5 separate regions of the Homo sapiens genome follow, and regions 1, 3, 4 and 5 are each linked to region 2. The links are contacts of gene promoters, found by promoter capture Hi-C in human tissues and cell types (Jung and others, 2019). All regions are on one chromosome and are shown on one strand. The core of a region is centred on a gene start or on the middle of the fragment in contact, and the rest is flanking DNA. Distances in the headings are between cores, read along the strand shown.

Region 1 (2,700 bases), core at 149-2,648, 620 kb after region 2:
CCCTGCACGAACTCCATCCCCCGCTGGCTGCTGAGCTTCCGCACCAGGTACACCCGGTGCCAGTCGTTCTCCACCCGGATACAGAACTGCTTGACTTGCTGCAGGTAGCACTGCTTCTCCTTGGCCATCTCTGAGAGGCCAACGAGAAAGCGGGTGAGTGGCTGGTGACTTAGGGCATTTATTGTAGGACACAAGGCCAACCAGAGGGCATCGGACCTACCCACAGGCATTCACAGAAACACATCCAGGGGAGAGGGGATGTAGAAAAGCCCAGTAGTAGTCTATTCGAAGAACTAGTTTCCCATACTTCCTGAATTTCTAAATAACGGAGTCTTTAAACCCAAAGGAAAGCAAGGCAGAGAAGACTTGCCTGGGCCTCCCTCAGGCTCCGAGAGGAAATCTGCAGCTCTGTCGAGGCAGAGGCGGATCCGGGCCACCTCTTGCAGGTATTCAACCGAGGCCTCGTTGGCAGGCTCTCGGCCCCGGCTTGCTGGAGAATATGCCTTAAGGAAACGACCTTCCTCTTCTAGGTGGTTCAGTTCATCATTTCTGGAGTAAGCACTGGTCTTCTCAAGTATTGAATCCTGAGGAACAAGGAACAAGAAAGAAAAGGATATTATTTTTTTAAACATGGATGCCCCAAGCTTCTACAGTCGCCAATGTGACTGTGGAGAAGGAAGGATAGAAGAATGTTACTGTAGGTTTCAGTGTAAATTTCTTGACTTATGGAAACCTAACATTCCTTTTTATTTTAAGGACAAGAAGGAGGGGAAAAGTGAACCTATGAGGAAAAAAAATTATCTAATTTATTTACATTATAAAAATTTTGGATATAAAAATATGAAGATAAAAAGTATCCATAATGTCCCCACTCAATGATAACCACTGTTAACTTTGGCAGTATATTCTCCTAGGCTGTTCTGTTTTGTATGTATATGCAAGTAAATGCCAAAATATACGTTGCTGAAGGCAGAAGCCGCGTCTTTGAAACCTTTCTTCTTTTCTGCACGGAACAGAGCATTCGTTAATTATACTGACTAAAATTATATTCTGTAAATTTTAAACCATGTGGTTCAGATAGTTTCCAAAAGAAATTCAGGGAAGAGAGAGTTCACTTACCTCCAGGCAGTTGATGAAGAGCATGTACAGTTCAGTTTTATCTTCAGTTATGAATGCTTTCTTTTTTAACAGGGTCAAATATTCCTGAATATAATCTTTTACATCATGAAAGCTGCAGAAAGAGAAATATTATTCCTGGTTCTCTCAGATCTGGAGACATACCTTACTAAAAAAAAGAGCATCTATCTATCGGTCGTCTGTCCTGTGTGTGTGTGTGTATAAACATATACATACATATACGTGGTTTCTAAGATTTTATGGAAAACCTTTTAGCATAATACTGGAGGAATATAAAACTCACATTTTAGACCAGCTGTCCTCAAACTTTGGTTTCAGGACCCCTTTATAGTCTTAAAAATTGAGAACCCCGAAGAGCTTTTATGTGGGTTATATTATCAATATTTATGATATTAGGAATTATGAGACATTAAAAACAAAAGGTTTCAAAAATATACATTCATTTAAAATAACAATAAAGCTATTACATGTTAAATAACATTTAAAATATTTTCCAAAACATGAATCCGTGAGAAGAGTGGTTTGGTCTTCCATTCCTGTGCTGGCCCTGGGGCCTGGCTCCTGGAAGTCAGCGGCCTGCCTGCCCTGCTCCCCATCGCTGCAGCATATGGGAGAACATGAAGAAAATCTGTCCTCATATACTCGGAATAGCGAGGAACATTTTAATAGTTTTTGCAGCTGATTGTGGCTATTATTCCTTAATGCTGTGCCCACAGTGATAAATGGTCATGTCTAGAGGTTAGTTGCAATGTGGAGCCTGAAACTGTATCAGTGCATTTTTCAGTCAATTATGTTAAAATCAAAAAGGTCTGCCCATACTTTAAATAGATTTTTTTCTTTTTTGACCCACATGATTTCATGACATCAGGCATTGGTCATTTGGAAAATATTGGTTCACTGGGCTGTGCAGGTCTTGTAAAGGTTGACACATTTGTATTCTACGTTTTAAAAAAAAAAATCCATATTCATTAATATCACCACAAATTGCCCCAAAATGTCTTTAAGTATTCAAAAGCTCACAAGCTCATAGTGGAGAATATAAGCTTTTCAAAATTTTAATTTCAGCTTAAAAGCTTGAATGTTATCATCACCAACCAACATTGTCAGTTGTTTGGCTGAGGCTGGCTCACTTTGCTGATTTCCAGGAGAGGCCTGCCCAGCCCTGGACACCTGTATCATGTGCATCCTTCCTCCCAGCACGGGTGGCGGTCCATGAACACAGCAGCCGGCTGATAACCCAGGGCTTGTCATGAGTGATTTTCTGTGAGGCAACTGTCTACTCCGGTGTGTAGTGGGAGTGTTTTGTGTGTGCTTCCCATTTCCACAAAACGTTGAAAAGTCAAATCCTCAAGAGTCAAGATTTAGTAAAACTAAAATGAAACTGGCATGAAGAAAACCACGTGTGCATGGCGGTGAAGAAAACAATACCTCCAGCTACTGTGTCTTCACGTGAGGGGCCAGCAGTTTAACTCATCACCGCTTTTTGTAACATCATCATAAGTATCAACATGTTTTTTAAAAAAGGGCAAATTTATCTTAGTAATCTAATTTTTAAAATAGTTT
Region 2 (2,700 bases), core at 164-2,663:
TAGTGTGTGCTAAGGATGCTGTTCCCAAGCACCCAAAATCCCAGGGAGACCTACGGCAGCCCGCAACACGGGTCTGCACAGCCGAGAGCCCACAGTGACCCTTGGCAAGTGGAAAGCTGTGCTTGAAGAGAAACCGGAGCTGAGTCCTTAAAGAGAGGGGAGGGAGTGCCTTGGGGCTGGCAGGGTAGGTGGAAGGTGGACGATGGAGGCTGGGTCCAGCTGTCTTGCAGGCAGCTCGGGACGGTGCCCAGCGCTGTGCCCATCTTCTCTAGGGACAAATGTGCCCGTTGTTTCTTTTCACAGCTTATGGACTCAGATGCCAACGTAAGATTCCCTCTTTCATTTACATTCGCTTCTCTTTTAGTATAAAATTAACCTATTTCTGTTGCACAAAATTTAGAAAAGAAAGCATCCGAAAAAGCTAGCCCTGCTTTCATTTCGGGGTCTCTTTCGTGACACGTTTATCTCGTTACAAAAATGGACTATTCTTAACCCGCCCTGTCCCTGACATGCCAGGCGATTCCTCCTCCTACAGAAGCTAACTTTCACATGGGAAAAGGCACCACCACCGGCCCGGCTGTGCCCCGGGGGGTCAGTCTGGAGTCGCCGCAAACAAACGCGCCAAACACGGTGGTCCCGTACCCAGGCGCTGCGGAAGCCCGGCAGGACCCCGGCAGGACCCCGGCAGGCGTTCGGCGCACCTGTCGGCCGCTCCTCGGACCAGGGCAGACTTCCTTCCAGTCCTGGCCTGGATGGGGTGAGGGAGAGGGGATGCCCCGCGCTGCCTCGCGAAGCCGGCAGCACCGCCGGGGCTCCGGCCCAGGGCACCAGGAGGCAAATGAGCCGCGGGACGGGGGCGGGGGCAGCGACTCCGGGAGAGCCGGGACCTGCTCCCGCGGGCCCAGAGCCAGGGAAAGCCCAGCGCCGCGCGGACCCCACGGACGGGCCGCCAGGCTGTGGCCGAGCCCCGAACGCCGGCGTCGAATCCCGCAGTCACCAGCCGCGCCCACCCCGGCGGGGCTCGCAGAGGCGGACGCGCGGGCCCCGGGGAAGACGGCAGCCACGGCGCCGCGCAGGAGACCCCGGCCCGAGGCCCCGCGGGCGAGGAGGGACGCAGGGCGGAGAGACCGAGGGGCCCGGCTGCGCGCTGCGCCTCAGTTTCCCCATCCGAACGCGGGGGGCCGAGGGCGCGGGGCTCTTCCGGCCCCGCCGCCCGCCCCGGCCCCGTCGCCTGTCCCGGCCCCAGCCCTGACCCCGGGCCCGGGCCCTCACCAGGATGGCCTTGTCCTGCTCCGTGACGCGGCTCTGCTTCTTGCGGCCGAACAGGTTACCCATGGCGGCGCCCGCCCCTGGCCCGGGACCCACCAAGTCCAATCGCCACCGCCGCCCCGCGGCCACCGTAGCTCGGGTCCTCCCGCTACGGCGGCCGCGCCGGGCCAGGCGCCGCGGAACGCGAAGGCCGAGCGCCGCCTCCGGCCGCGCGCCGTTGCCGCGGGTTCGAAACCACAGCCCGCCGGTCTCGGCGACCGCCGCGAACACCGCGGCCTCCTTGGACCGGTACGGAGAAGTGGCACGGATACCTGGATGTTAGGGCCCGCGATGTTCGGGCCCGGGATGTTCTAAATGACGTGTTTCCGTGCACCCTTCCTGTGCAGGTGAAGGCAAAAATTTCTTATCTCCTAATTAGGTGGGATCCTTTTAGATTAACATAATTCAGTCTCCCCAGGCTTTCAGGAATCTTGTGCAGGAATCACTGTCCCACTGGCTCTGAACACAAAATGCCGCATTAATGATGTGATATCCAACGTTTTGCACTTTTTTTTTTTTTTTTTTTTTTAGATGGAGTCCTGCTCTGTCGCCCAGGGTGGAGTGCAGGGGCGCTATCTCGGCTCACTACAAACTCTGCCTCCCGGGTTCAAGTGATTTTCCTGCTTCAGCCTCCTGAGTAGCTGGGACTACAGGTGCCTGCTGCCACACCCGGCTAATGTTTGTTAGTAGAGACGGGGTTTCACCATATTGGCCAGGCTGGCCTTGAGCTCCTGACCTTCTGATCCACCCACCTCGGGCTCCCAAAGTGCTGGGATGACAGGCGTGAGCCGCCGCACCCGGCCCGCTTTGCACTTTAAAATGTTCCCTGAAATGCGACCAGCAGCGCCCTCCACCCAGCCTTTCAGCCCTGGGATCTTCCCTCTTCCACTGCGCTGCTCCCTGTCTGTAGATCAGTGCCAGGAGGAGACCAGCATGGCTGGGCTCAGCTTCTCCTTCCAAGGAATCGTGGCTGCGTCCCCCACAGAAGCATTCTTCCCTGGGGGGCTAAGAAACACATGAATGGGGATAAAGGGTAAAAGGGAGAAGCCACCCCGGTTCCCGCCTGAGTATCCTGACTGTGGTTCCTGAGCATTCACTAAGTGTCAAAGAAAAGCACTCAGCTGAGGATGGCTTGAGGCCAGGAGTTCAAGACCAGCCTGGCAACATAGCAAGACCCCCGTCTCTACAAAAAATATAACAAATAACATCAAAAGGAGAATAATTATCACCTGTTCCAAACCTCTGGACTCCAGAACCTTCACTGAGGTGAGGGGGCCCCTGAATTTTTGTGGGGTTCATCTCCCACCCTCTGATTTGTCTCACCAAGACATCTGAAGTACTTTTTTCCTTGGTGTCCATGGGGACGTTGAGGAAAAAAAAAAAAAAGACTTG
Region 3 (2,700 bases), core at 106-2,605, 510 kb before region 2:
TTCTCCTGCCTCAGCCTCCCAAGTAGCTGGGATTACAGGCATGCGCCACCGCGCCCAGCTAATTTTGTATTTTCGGTAGAGATGGGGTTTCTCCATGTTGGTCAGTCTGGTCTCAAACTCCTGACCTCAGGTGATCCGTCCACCTCGGCCTCCCAAAGTGCTGGGATTACAGGCATGAGCCACCGCGCCCGGCTGCAACAGCAATATATTGACTCAGAGGAGGACAGGTGCTGCTGAAAGGGGCTGAGAGAATCTGATCCTGGCTCAGCACAGCTGGGGATTGGCCTCCTCCATGGCCTTTTGTTTGTTTGCTTTTGTGTTTTTTTTGGAGACAGCATCTCACTATGTTGCCCAGGCTGAACTCCTGGACTCAATGGTCCTCCTGCTTAGGCCTCCCAAAGTGCTGGGATTACAGGCATGAGCCACTGCACCCAGCCTAGGACTCTTTTTGAAAAAACAACCACAAGCTGGGCGCGGTGGCTCATTCCTGTAATCCCACCACTTTGGGAAGCCGAGACGGGCGGATCACGAGGTCAGGAGTTCAAGACCAGCCTGGCCAACATGGTGAAACCCATCTCTACTAAAAATACAAAAATTAGCCAGGCATGGTGGCGTGCGCCTGTAATCCCAGCTATTCCAGAGGCTGAGGCAGGAGAATTGCTTGAACCCACATGGCAGAGGTTGCAGTGAGCCGAGATTGAGCCACTGCACTCCAGCCTGGGTGACAGAGCAAGACTCTATCTCAAAAAAAAAAAAAAAAAAAAAAAAATCACAGTATCATGCCCCCACCCACCAATTATTGATCGATACTTAGTATCATCTAATGTCCAAATTTCCTTGGTTGTCTTAAATTTTTTGTTGTTGTTTTGTTTGTCTGTTTTTTTGGGGGGACAGGGTCTTGCTTTGTTGCCCAGGCTAGAGTGCAGTGGCACAATCACAGCTCACTGCAGCCTCGACTTCCTAGGCTCAAGCAATCCTCCCACCTCAGCCGCTTGAGTAGCTGGGACTACAGGCGTGCACCACCATGCCCAGATAATTTTTAAACTTTCTGTAGAGATGGGGTCTCCCTATGTTGCTTAGGCTGGTCTCAAGCTCCTGGTCTCAAGAGATCCTCTCACCTCAGCCTCCTAAAATGTGGCGATTACAGGTGTGAGCCACCATGCCCAGCCTTAAATTTCTTTCTTTTTTTTTTTTGAGACGGAGTCTCACTCTGTCACCCGGGCTGGAGTGCAGTGGTGTGATCTCGGCTCGCTGCAAGCTCCGCCTCCTGGGTTCATGCCATTCTCCTGCCTCAGCCTCCCGAGTAGCTGGGACTACAGGCGCCCACCACCACGCCCGGCTGGTGTATTTTTAGTAGAGACGGGGTATTTTTTTTGTATTTTTTTGTATTTTTTTTGTATTTTTAGTAGAGACGGGGTTTCACCGTGTTGGCCAGGATGGTCTCGATCTCCTGACCTCGTGATCCACCCGCCTCGGCCCCCCAAAGTGCTGGGATTACAGGCGTGAGCCACCGCGACCCACCTAAATTTCTTTTAACGGTTGGTTTCCAATCATTGCACTTGGCCACTATGTCTCTTAAATCTCTTTTAACCGCGGGATTTACCCTCTTTCATTTTTCTCCTTTCAGGTTATTTGTGGAAGAAGGCAGGTCTTTTGTTCCAAAGGGTTCCACCTGTCTGGATTTTGCTGATTTCGTCCTTGTGGTTGATGTGGCACGTTCCTCAACCCTTATATTTCCTATAGTCAGTTAGCTCTAGGTGTAAATGTCCAAACTGGTCTGTTTAATCTCATTCAGGTTGATTTTTTTAGCAAGAAGATGACCACAGGGTGGGTGCAACTTCATGGAGAGGGAAAGAGTCCCACAGAGCCTGATGTTGTGATATTAGCAGCCATTGGAAATCCCTGCCAGGACCTGCTATTTCATTAGTGGTTACAAATTATTCTCCCCCTCCACTCCCCTCCCCTCCCTCTTTTCTCCTCTCCTCCTCTCCCTCCCTCCCTCCTTCTCTCCTTCCCTCCTTCCCTCCCTCCCTTTCTTTTTTGATGGAGTCTCACTCTCTCGCCGCTGGAGTGCGGCCTCCGCCTCCAGTTTCCAGCAATTCTCCTGCCTCAGCCTCCTGAGTAGCTGGGACTATAGGCGCCCACCACCACGCCTGGCTAATTTTTTTTTTGTATTTTTAGTAGAGATGGGATTTCACCGTGTTAGCCAGGATGGTCTTGATCTCCTGACCTCGTGATCTGCCTGTCTCGGCCTCCCAGAGTGCTGGGATTACAGGCGTGAGCCACTGCGCCTGGCCTATTTCTTTCTTTTTTTTAATGGAGTTTTGCTCTTGTTGCCCAGACTGGAGTCCGGTGGTGTGATCTCGGCTCACTGTAACCTCCACCTTCTGGGTTCAAGCGATTCTCCTGCCTCAGCTTCCCAAGTAGCTGGGATTATAGGTGCCCACCACCATGCCCCACTAATTTTTGTATTTTCTGTAGAGCCAGGGTTTCACCATGTTGGTTGGCCAGGCTGGTCTTGAACTTCTGACCTCAGGTGATCTGCCCACCTTGGCCTTCCAAAGTGCTGGGATTACAGGCATGAGGCACTGCACCTGGCCTTTTCTTTTCTTTTCTTCTTTTCTTTCCCTTTCTCCCTCCCTTTCTTCTCCCTTCCTTCCTTCCTTCCCTTCTTTCTTTCCCTCCCTCCCTCCCTTCTTT
Region 4 (2,700 bases), core at 1-2,500, 890 kb after region 2:
AAATCCCAGGTTGTCACTTGTACTTTCGATCAACTAGTTATAAATTCAGAGGTTCCCAGGACTCCCTCTTCAGGGTCACAGAACTCAGGAAAGTGCGTTTCTTACAGTTGCTGGTTTATTACAAAGGATAAAACTCAGACAGCCGTATGGAAGAGATGCGTAGGGCCTGGTGTGAGGTGGGGGCAGTGATGCTGTGCTCTCTGCTCGCACCACCCTCCAGTGCCTTGGTGTGTTCCACAACCCGGCGGGAAGCCCTCTGATCCCTGTGGTTTCTTACGGGGTTCCATTGTGCAGGCATGGTTGACTAAGCCACTGGTGATTCACTCAATCTCCAGCCCCTCACCCCTTTTCCATCCCAACCCGTCATCAGGCCTTGGTCTTTCTGGCCATCTGCTTCCATCCTGAAGCCACCTGGTGTCCCCGGTCATCAGTCACCTCATGAGCAAAAGGCTCTCTCATCACTCGGTTTCCAAGGGTTTCGGGTGCTATGTGCCAGCAACCAGGGACAAAGACCAGAGACAGTCACCCCTGGCCTGGCCTAAGGGGGTCTTTGTGATTGAGACATTCAGATTTCAGAGCTGGCCCAGGGGCCCCCTCTCAGGCCACGGTGCTCCTCACCCCAGGGATTCAGACCCAGCCATGTGCGTCCTGCAGGAGCAGGAGAGGTGGCTCGGGTCCCGGCCAGGACTGAGCACTGCGTCGATCAAAAGGGGAAAGGAAACCCTAGAAACGGGAAGATGCAGCCTCCAGCCCCAAGCCCAGCACAGGAGGGCGGCTCCCCGTTCATCTCTAAGCTGAACTCAGATAAAGACCGGGAGGACTAGAGGTCTGGGGCTCAAGCTCCGCTCAGGGGAAGAGGCTGGGGGCACGGCTAGGCACGTTCAAACCCGCTTCTGGGATGTTACCGCCGGCAGCGCGGGGCAGACGTCAGGTGTCTCACCCGCTCCGTGCCTCAGTTTCCCCGTCAGCTGCGGCACGCGCAGAGCCTCCCTCGCTGAACAACGGGCGGACGAGGAGAACCTAGAGGTGGCCGGGGTCCTTCGCGTCACCGAGGTCACTGTCCTACCTGCTGCCTCATCCCCGACCTCCACCCGCGGCCCCGGCGACAACCTCAGCTTTCCCAACTGAGAGGCCGCGCGGGCAGCCGACCGCCCCACCGACCCGGCCCGCGCTCAGGGAAGCCCCGCAGCCCCGGCCCGGCTCACCTCCGCGCACGCGCGCCCTGGCCGCCCGCGGAGACTCCGGGGTCGTGCCCGGGGGCGCGCAGAGGCGGGTCACGTGACCGGCGGGAGCTCGTCGCGGGGCGGGGCCGCGGTGGGTCACGTGACGCGGCCTCCCGCGCAGGCGCCCGAGGCAAGGGTGCGCGTCCGCGCTACGCCCCCCAGTGGCGGCTCCGGCAGAGCGGGCCTGGGCGCGTCCTCGCTCTCGGAGGGGGCCTGGGGAGCGCGTCTGGCTGCGCGTCCGGCGTCCCGCGGGGAGAGGCCCACGCGTGCTGCCCGCTGCCGGTTCCTCTGGGGTCAGAGACGGGGCGAGGCCCCCGCTGGCGCAGTCCCGGCCCGGTCCCCGTGGGGTCGGAGATGGGGCGTGGCCCCCGCTGCCCCGGCCTGGGTCCCCGCAGCTCGTAGGGCTTTGTAAGGGGCTGGCCCAGCCGCGCCTTGCGCCCAGGGATTCCTCCTGCCAACGCGTCCCGAGGGCATCATCGGAAAGGCGGCCAAAGGCGCTCAGCGCCAAGTTAGAAACAGCCAACATTTGGAAAGTCCTTAAGTGTGCTCCATAACTCACAGTTATTCCAGAAAGGAATAATCAAAACATTGTGATAACCCATAAAACTGACAATTGAGAAAACATTAAACTGACACAGGGGGAATTTTTTCATAAAATGAGAAAATGCTTACATTAAGAGGAGCACATTTTTACATGTGAGATACAAAAAACACACAGTATAACCTTAACTTGCCTAATAAAATGTATGTGCAGAAAAATACAAAAGGAGCCACACCAAAACACAGAGGTGTTGTTCCTGGGTAGGGGCATAGGGGCATTAAAAGCCCCCTTTCCAGCTTGCAGCGAGCCGAGACCGCGCCACTGCACTCCAGCCTGGGCGACAGAGCGAGACTCCGTCTCAAAAAAAAAAAAACAAAAGCCTCCCTTCCACCTCTGTTGTGGTTTCTGTATTTCTACAATGTTTTAAAATAAGTAAGGCTGACTCAGAAAGGCTTACTAGATATTCAGAAAAAAGATTTTATTCTTCTGCTGAAATGTTTGAAAGTGAAATTATTTTGTAGAGCATTTTCCCTTTAAACTGCAAAGAAGCCCCAAGGTCATTGGTACTTGGAAGTCCAGGGAGAAAGAGCGCTGGGTTAATGATGGAGAAAAGATAGGTGGGCAGACTGGGGCGTAGTCCCTTGGTGTGGACGCCCCAGCGTGCTCTTATTTCAGTGCTCACCCTGTTACGTGTGTCTGGGGCCACTGACTTTCTCCTGCAAGCTGTGGATCTGAATTTAACTCAAATGGGGACATGGGGGCAGGAAAAGGGACCTGAGAGTTCTAAGGGGTGGGGATGGGAAAACTGGTAAAGAAGGTGGTTTGTGGGTTTTCAGATGCACCTAGTAGAGGGAAGTGCTGGGGGGACCAGCCTCCCGGGCCAGGCTGGCTGGAGCTGCCTTAACTTTCCCACCTCTGCTCAGCCCACCAGCTTGT
Region 5 (2,700 bases), core at 167-2,666, 730 kb after region 2:
ATCTCTCCTTCAGAGTAGAAGGAGAGTTTAAAACTCCCCTACCCCTGCCACAGCCAAGCCCTGGCTCCCACCGTACCTCCTCCCCTCCACACTCTACCTGAAACAACCACCAGTGGACACTCCCTCCCTCAAACACCTTCAATGACTCCCCACCGCCCAGGCCTCTTTCTTTCCACCCGAAGTGTTTCCTTCTCCAATGCTACACTGGGGAACCACAGACCAGAAAACTCGAAAAATCCTCCAAAAAGCATTTTTTGTTTGTTTGACAGTTTCACCCAGGCTGGAGTACAGTGGGCAATCTCAGCTCACTGCAACCTCCGCCTCCCGGGCTCTAGCGATTCTCCCGCCTCAGTCTCCCAAGTAGGTGGAGTTACAGGCATGCGCCACCACACCCGGCTAATTTTTTGTGTTTTTAGTAGAAACGGGGTTTCATGTTGGCCAGGCTGGTCTCGAACTCCCGACCTCAGGTGACCCACCCGCCTTGGCCTCCCAAAGTTTTGGGATTACAGGCATTAGCCACTGCGCCCGGCCCCCTAAAGCATCTTATTGTTCCATCTGCTCTAGGGGCCGGAAGACACAAGAGAGAGCCCCAGGCACCCAACACTGTTGCATTCAATCCGCTTCCTGTCTTTTCTCTGACATTTTTTCCCAAGCACAGACACTGCCACCCAAATCAAAGCCCATCCCCCAACCACAACCAAAGTCAACAAGGTGGGGGCAGGGAAGGGCCACCACCATGTTTGCACAGCTCCTTCCCCTCCCGCCCTGGACTCCCCCAGGGCCCGGCCCGCCGGCTTGCAGGCAGCCATCCGGGAGGGGTGCCCACCCTGGCCTTGAGCCCCGCGCTCGGGCGACTTCGCCAAGTCGGAAGGACGCTGCGCGGTGCGGTTCAGACGGGGCGATGCCTCCCTCGTAAAAGTTAGGAGTCTGTTTTTGCAACTTCACTTTTCCGTTGTTGCCATTCGTACAGGCGCAGGATTCCCGGGCGGACCTGCAGGCCCGGGTCCGGCTGTCCCCTTCCACTACACCCCCCGTGCCCCGGCCACTTCCCGGGGGCAGCACTGCCGGGGCGCAAAGCCTCCTCCGCGCTCTGCGCTCCGGGGATGTCGCCGGGGTCCCAGGCGTGCCCGCTGCCCCCACCCCGACCCCTCCCGCAGCCGGGGAACAGGGTCAGTGGGCGCCGCGGGCGGGGCTGGACCGGGCACCCCGGCGGCGAAACCGAAACTTGGAGCCGGCAGGAAGAGGCGGCCGGGAGGGGCATCCGGACGCAGGCGCCGCTCCCCGGGACCCGGCCCGCCGGCCCGCGGGGCCCACTGTATCCTAGCCCGCTCCCCGCCCCGGGAGACTCTCCAGGCCCGCTCGCACCTGCGGCCCCCGAGCTCGCCGCCTGCCGCGCGCTGTCGCCCCTCGGGTCACGGGGCCCTGGGCCCCGCCCTGCCCGCCGCCGCCGCCGCCGGCCCCGCCCTGCCCGCCGCCGCCGCCGCCGGCCCCGCCCTGCCCGCCGCCGCCGCCGCCGGCCCCGCCCTGCCCGCCGCCGCCGCCGCCGGCCCCGCCCTGCCCGCCGCCGCCGCCGCCGGCCCCGCCCTGCCCGCCGCCGCCGCCGCCGGCCCCGCCCTGCCCGCCGCCGCCGCCGCCGGCCCCGCCCTGCCCGCCGCCGCCGCCGCCGGCCCCGCCCTGCCCGCCGCCGCCGCCGCCGGCCCCGCCCTGCCCGCCGCCGCCGCCGCCGGCCCCGCCCTGCCCGCCGCCGCCGCCGGCCCCGCGCAGGCGTGTGCGGAATTCCCCGCCGGTGGCGCCTCCCAGTGACTCCGGGCCCCCAGCCCCCGGGAGGCGCCTCGGGCCGCTGCGCGCCGGGTACAGACGCGGGAGGGGCCTCGGTTCCCGCCAGGCGTGGGGCGCATGCGGGTCTCCCGGAAGCCCAGACCCCGGGCAGGCCCGAGCAGCCGAGTGGGGCGGGACAGGCGCGCCCCCCGCCCCGGCGCCCAGCACCTCGGACAGTGTCTGCGGCCGCGCAGAGCCGGCGGCCAGCCTGGGAGCGGCCCAGAGGGCGCCCGGCGGGTGCAGTGGACGTCGTCAGCGCGCCGCGTGGGGGCCTTTGCAGATTAAGGGACCTCCGCGGCCCCGCGCGGAGCGCTCTGTCACTGATGATGGAGGGGCCACGGCGGTCCGCACCATCCCCCGTGCCTCAGTTTTCCCATCTGTGAGGCTCATGGTGTGACCAGGGACCTCCGTTTTAAAATCACCCACTTTCTTTTTCTTCCTTCTCCTCTCACCCCTTCATCCCGTCCCTCTCTGGACACTGCGCCCCTCTGCGCATTCCAGAGGGGACCCTCATCCTGAAACAATTCCCGGCGCGGAACCCCAGCTGAATGCTCCTGCTTGGGGCGGGGGGTCGCCAACAATTAGTCCAACATCCTCGACAGCCACCCCTCCTAACCGACAACTGCCCACGACAGCCATGGGAACAAGACACAGACCCTGCCCTTACCCCACTCCCCACGGTGCCCACGGCAAGTTTCCCTAGAAGAACTCGATGGCAGCCTGGGCAACATAGAGAGACCCCATCTCTACAAAAAAAATCATTTAAAAAAATTAGCTGGGCGTGGTGGTGCACCTGAAGAGGCTGAGGCAAGAGGATCGTTTGAGCCCAGGGAGCTCCAGGCTGCAGTGAGTCGTGATCATACCACTGCACTCCAGCCTGGA

The links. Contacts are between HindIII fragments. The study calls those that stand out against the background at their distance.
Region 1: a contact is called between a fragment that was not itself captured here and the fragment with the promoter of CHMP6 in region 2, in 1 of the 25 tissues and cell types used here (lymphoblastoid cells).
Region 3: a contact is called between a fragment that was not itself captured here and the fragment with the promoter of CHMP6 in region 2, in 1 of the 25 tissues and cell types used here (dorsolateral prefrontal cortex).
Region 4: a contact is called between the fragment with the promoter of GAA here and the fragment with the promoter of CHMP6 in region 2, in 1 of the 25 tissues and cell types used here (lymphoblastoid cells).
Region 5: the fragment with the promoter of RNF213 here is called in contact with the fragment with the promoter of CHMP6 in region 2 in 1 of the 25 tissues and cell types used here (heart left ventricle).

What each region holds. Positions count from the first base shown.
Region 1 is chr17:80,370,405-80,373,104 of GRCh38, reverse strand. RNF213 (ring finger protein 213) reads right to left here. Exons shown (of 68, transcript NM_001256071.3): 47 at 1,120-1,231; 48 at 371-584; 49 at 1-130. The region is part of intron 1 of RNF213-AS1 (RNF213 antisense RNA 1); the gene reads left to right. Among named protein-coding and RNA genes, the nearest start is that of ENDOV, 43 kb to the left of the region's middle. RefSeq lists an enhancer at 138-1,337. The HindIII fragment of the contact is 5,086 bases long and covers 1-2,700 here.
Region 2 is chr17:80,990,554-80,993,253 of GRCh38, reverse strand. It overlaps CHMP6 (charged multivesicular body protein 6), which reads right to left and starts at 1,413. Exons shown (of 8, transcript NM_024591.5): 1 at 1,273-1,413. The coding sequence starts at 1,335. RefSeq lists silencers at 711-900, 911-1,060, 1,191-1,520. The HindIII fragment of the contact is 10,930 bases long and covers 1-2,028 here.
Region 3 is chr17:81,503,864-81,506,563 of GRCh38, reverse strand. No RefSeq gene overlaps it. Among named protein-coding and RNA genes, the nearest start is that of ACTG1, 7.6 kb to the left of the region's middle. The HindIII fragment of the contact is 9,311 bases long and covers 1-2,700 here.
Region 4 is chr17:80,100,131-80,102,830 of GRCh38, reverse strand. It overlaps GAA (alpha glucosidase), which reads right to left and starts at 1,250. Exons shown (of 20, transcript NM_000152.5): 1 at 941-1,250. It overlaps CCDC40 (coiled-coil domain 40 molecular ruler complex subunit), which reads right to left. Exons shown (of 20, transcript NM_017950.4): 20 at 2,218-2,700. RefSeq lists an enhancer at 644-753 and a silencer at 1,084-1,703. The HindIII fragment of the contact is 18,678 bases long and covers 1-2,700 here.
Region 5 is chr17:80,259,568-80,262,267 of GRCh38, reverse strand. It overlaps RNF213 (ring finger protein 213), which reads right to left and starts at 1,416. Exons shown (of 68, transcript NM_001256071.3): 1 at 1,366-1,416. RefSeq lists silencers at 539-678, 1,059-1,408, 1,688-2,037. The HindIII fragment of the contact is 8,363 bases long and covers 1-2,700 here.